Linked DNA regions of Homo sapiens: region 2 is linked to region 1. The links are contacts of gene promoters, found by promoter capture Hi-C in blood cells and fetal thymus (Javierre and others, 2016). All regions are on one chromosome and are shown on one strand. Each heading gives the region's core, a stretch centred on a gene start or on the middle of the fragment in contact. The rest is flanking DNA. Distances are from core to core; before and after follow the strand shown.

Region 1 (2,540 bases), core at 24-2,523:
CTGAGATCCTTTCTAAAAATAAAAGTTTAAAAGCAAGCAAAATGATCATGAACATGCGATAAAACAGCAACAACAGCATCAAACAAGGAAATGCTAAGCACGAAATTCACATAGTGGCTATTTCCGAGGGAAGGCGGGGAGGGGAAGTGTGCAGGAGAAGCGCATATAAGGAGATGTGTTAGTGATGATGTTCTTGTTCTTGGTTTGGGTGGTGTATTTGCTTGTGTTTATTATATTATTAAATAAACTAATTAAATGGCATAGATGAAAGATGATAGGTGTCAAAACCAAGAATTATGATTAAATCTATGGACCTGAATATATATATCTAGCCAAAGTGCTAGGGATGGGGTTGGGACAGGACATCAGTGCATTCTGAGAATTAACCCTCAGAGTCACAGAATCTGCAAGGGACCCCAGAGATCTCCCAATGCCAGCCTTCATCAGGTAGTGGGATGGGTTGGAGTTGTCTGAGATCAGGGAAGCAGGGGAGATTTGCTGAGGTCACACAGAAGGAACCAGAGCCCGGGCAGTCTGACTCACAGTTTGCTGATCTTTTCTTTCCTTAAAAGGAAGCTCCAGACATCCTTGATGTCAGGTACTGGGCTCTAGAGTACTGAGATGCTACAATCTTGAGAACAGGATATGTGGAAGCCCCAAATCCTCCTGCCTATGGGAAAAAGTACTCTTTAGAACAGAGACTTGCAAATGTGTTTGGCTGTGATGACGGTAAGAAATTCTTTATGTCATGATCCAATTCACATATGGGTTTGTGTGTGTGTGTGAAACTAAAACAATAATATCCTGAAGCAATATTTATCCGTACTACATATGATGCACACTGATATTTTTACCCTATTTTTGGTTTTTATTTCTTAAATGTTAGATATGATCCATTTAAATTGATCTAATAAGCCACCAGGGGGTCATAACCCACAGCGGCTGTAGAGAGGCTGACAGGGACTCTAGTAGGCCAAGCCTGCCTTGTCCAGAGCGGGACAGGTGGGACCCCAGTGTAGTCTGCCCTGCCCTGCCCCTGCTCTCTGTCCCTGGGGCCCCAGCCAGCCAGGCAGAGGGGTCTGAGGGCTCCCATCAATCCAGCCACAAAACTTCCCTTTCTACCTCTGCCCTTCTGGGCTGTCCAGGGTCCATCTCCTCTCCCGAGAGGTCCCTGGACTCACCAAGGCAGTGCCCGCTACAGCATGTGTACGAGAAGCCCTGCTGTCCTAGCAGGAAGGAGCAAGAGGACAAATCGAGGGGAAGGCTGTGGGTTCTGTGGGCAAGTCTGCCTGCTTTGTGACACTGAGCCCAGTGGTTGCTAGGTTACCCTGTTCCCACAACTCCAGAACCTCTGCCCAGCACCCCTCTACCACATCCCCTGCCTATCTCCCCCTCCTGGAAGGGTAGACAAGGGCTAAGGACCTTCTGTCCCTCCTGACTTCCCTGCTGCCTCCCATCCAACACTTTCAATGGGGGCCAAGGGAGAGAAGGAGAGTCTGGGGCTGGTTTTAGCCAGAGAGAAGCGGATGGAGGCGGAACGCTGGCAGAGGACGTTGGTGGGCTGCGTCCCAGCTTCGTCAGCCCCACCTGGCCTGACCCCACCACACAGGGGTCGGCTTCCATGCATCTTGGTTCTGGGGACCCATTCTCAGGGAGGTGGGTCTTGGAAGGAGAGAAGATGGCAGCCCGCATTACCCAGAGGGACCCCAGCCCCTCTCTCTGCATGACAGCTGGGTGGGAAGATTCTGGGCTTGCATTTGGACAGGTGTTTTAATCAGATTTCAACATCCCATAGACACGTTACCTTGGGTAAGTCACCGGGACTGCCACAGATGCAAAATAGTGGGAAGAATCCTTGCTTCGAGTCCCTATTCTGCTACTTCCTAGTTGTGTGGCCTCAGACAATGCACCTGCCTTCTCTGAGCCTTAGTTCCCATATCTCTAAAATGGAGATGATGATACTGCACTTATTCTCACAGGATGTTTGAGAATATTAAGTGAGTTGATATATATTAAAGCGTTTCAAACAGTATCTGCCCCCAAGTATAATTTCTTACTATTATTGCCTTCTCTGGGTCTATAAAATGGGATATCCTCACCTACTTCTGTGGTTGTTCTGAAGACAAGCTAATGGAAGTGAAGCCTTTAGTTGTATGTCTGGCACACAAGAGATGCTCAAAAAGGATAATAATCATCATTATTATTGGTAACTTGATGGAGGTAGTAGGATGAGTCCTTTGTCTGAGAACTATCTTAGGTAGTTCACTATTTCTCTGAGGCTCAACTTGGACACCTGTCAAATGGGGGTAAGGATAGTTCTTAGCCGACAGGGCTGTAACTCAATCAGATCCCGGGAGGGGTGCAGACAGGCTCTGTAAACTATGGGAAGGCTTGCAGACAGTGCCGGGTGCTGTCCCTCAGAATGATGAGGTGGGCTTTTCCCAGGGCCTTTGCTCTCAGCACCCCTGGCTTCATACTGGTGCCCTGGGGCTTCCAGACTCTGTGTCTTTTCTCTGGGGAGCAAGAAAAGGAAGGTGGGT
Region 2 (2,540 bases), core at 12-2,511, 240 kb before region 1:
CACACCTACAGCCTGCGGTGGCCTGGGCCCCCTGTGGCTCCTGACCAGCTGGAGGTGAGGCCCCCTGCCCTCTAGGCACCCCTGCCTCCGAGGCTTCTGGGGAGTGGCCTGGGAGGGTCTTCAGAAGGCCTCACACTCCCGCAGACAGATGGAGAATCTGAGGCCCCGGGAGGAGCAGTGTCAGGGAGTGGCCAACTCAGGATTCCCACTAAAGTGCTCTGCTAACCTGCTTGGCTTTGGGGGGTGGCTGTGACCCCTGAGGCTTGGGGGGGTCAGGGATGGGACTGGAAGCCAGGGCCAGGCCTGGCCATGGCAGGCTGTGGCCTTTCAGGGCTAGCCTAGAGCCTGCCCCAGTGGCCTGTGTCCTCCCTCCTGCCCTTGCCCAGACCCTGGAGGCCCAGCTGAAGGCCCATCTAAGCGAGCCTCCCCCAGGCAAGGAGGGCCCCCTGACCTACAGGTTCCAGACCTGCCTTACCATGCAGGAGGTCTTCAGCCAGCACCGCAGGGCCTGTCCTGGCCTCACCTACCACCGCATCCCCATGCCGGACTTCTGTGCCCCCCGAGAGGAGGTGAGGGTGCTGCTCAGGCTGAGGCCTCTGGGGAGGGACAGGAGGCCTCCCTGTCTCCCCTCTGGTCTGGGCTCTGGGAGAATGAAACGACCCCAGCTTCTCTACGGGGCCCGGGAATGGTCTCACGAGGTTTTCCGATTTGGCCCAAGTGGTTTATTCACATTCCTTCCAAGCTTTGTGTGTGTGTACGTGTGTTTATTATGTGTTATAGGGTATATGTGTGTGTATTGTTATAGGTGTGTGTGTATTGGAGTGTGTATTCTGTTACGTATGTGCATATGTGTTATAAGATGTGTGTACATGTGTTTATTATGTTGTAGGGTGTATGTGTGTGTATTGTGTTATGGGTGTGTGTTATAGGTGTGTGTGTGTTATCGGGGTGTGTGTGTATTCTGTTACAGGTGTGTGTGTGTATTTGTTATAAGGTGTGTGTGTGTGTTGAGGGTGAACATGTCCAGGGTGTCCGTGGTGTGTGTGTCTCAGTTGGGGGACTGTGTATGGAGTGTGTGGGTGGTGTGTGGAATGTGTGTGTGTGTGCATGTCTTTTTATGGAGTTTGTGATGTCTCCCTTGTCTGTATTGGGGGCTGTGTGTGGAAAACCATCTTTAGGGGAGTGGTGTGGTGTGTGGTAGGGTTTGTGGAGGGGTCGTTAGGAATGTGTGTGTGTGGCATCTGTAGGTCTGTGACTGTGGGTGTCTGTATAGTGTGTGTGTTTACCGGACGTGGATCCCTGTGTGGTGCGTGTGTCTGGCGTGTGTTGTAGGTGAGCCACCGTGTGCGTGGTGCGTGTGTTGTAGGTGGGTCGCTGTGTGCTGTGTAACTGGCAATGGGGTCTGTTACCCTGCCTGAGCCCCTCCTGGCGCATCTCTTCGCGGCTCTCACTGCCTGCGGTCTGCTGCCTCCTGGTGGCCTTGTGCTGCAGGGCTCTTCTGAGGTCAGGCCCCCGTCCATGGTGGGACCAGGGCTGGGTCCAGCTCAGGTGGGTGGCAGGGCCAGCAGTCTATGTGCAGCCCAGGGGCGCAGTACACAGGGGTGACATACAGGTGCATGTCCTGCCTGATGGAGGGTGGGTACCTTGAGCCCCAGGTGCATGCTGTGTTGGCTCACACATCCTGTCCAGGTGCTTGGTGTGAGGGTGATTACGACTGCACAGGTGCAGCTGTTTACACGCACATGGTCTCATGCACCCCGGTGAGTTTTGTTTGTGTGTGCAAGCTTGGGAGCCTGACAATTTCTGGCCCGAGGACAGTGGCTGGGGCTGCCATGTGGATGGGGACCCTGTTGGGGTTTGTGCATCCAAGAGACGCCCGCTGACCCAGACCTTGCTTTTCTCGTCCAGGACTTTGACCAGCTGCTGGAGGCCCTGCGGGCCGCCCTCTCCAAGGACCCAGGCACTGGCTTCGTGTTCAGCTGCCTCAGCGGCCAGGGCCGTACCACAACTGCGATGGTGGTGGCTGTCCTGGCCTTCTGGCACATCCAAGTACGTGTGGCCTCTCAAGTGAGATTAGAGATTTGCCTGGAGGAGGGTAGACACTCAGGTCCCAGGCACACTGGCTCCACAGGAGGGTGTGAGGGGCAGAGACAGCCGGGTGTGGTCCCAGAGCCCCTTCCATCAGTCTTGGGCAGCCCCCAAGTCCTCCCCAGCAAGGGGCTCCTGGCGTTGGGAGGGGGCTTCTGTCTCAGCAGCTGTCTTCCCTCAGGGCTTCCCCGAGGTGGGTGAGGAGGAGCTCGTGAGTGTGCCTGATGCCAAGTTCACTAAGGGTGAATTTCAGGTGAGCATGCCCTGCGGGGTCCCTGAGGCACCTTGGGATGGGAGGAGGAGGAGGACTCCTGCTTGCCGGTCTAGGGGTCCTCAAAGCACGTCCCAATGCAGTCACGTCTGCCACCTCATCATATCAGTGCTTCCCTGTTCCCATTTTATAGATGAGCCCAGCAAGGCATGGGACAGCTTGGCTCTGAGGCCCTGGCAGA

The links. Contacts are between HindIII fragments. The CHiCAGO score rates a contact against its expected background, and 5 or more counts as called.
Region 2: a contact is called between a fragment that was not itself captured here and the fragment with the promoter of TBATA in region 1, in 1 of 17 cell types (total CD8 T cells). The highest score is 5.5, in total CD8 T cells.

Annotation. Positions count from the first base shown.
Region 1 is chr10:70,784,104-70,786,643 of GRCh38, forward strand. TBATA (thymus, brain and testes associated) reads right to left here and starts at 1,274. Exons shown (of 11, transcript NM_001318241.2): 1 at 1,182-1,274; 2 at 544-670. The HindIII fragment of the contact is 8,030 bases long and covers 1-2,540 here.
Region 2 is chr10:70,539,194-70,541,733 of GRCh38, forward strand. PALD1 (phosphatase domain containing paladin 1) reads left to right here. Exons shown (of 20, transcript NM_014431.3): 14 at 1-54; 15 at 387-569; 16 at 1,909-2,049; 17 at 2,270-2,341. Among named protein-coding and RNA genes, the nearest start is that of PALD1, 62 kb to the left of the region's middle. The HindIII fragment of the contact is 1,042 bases long and covers 741-1,782 here.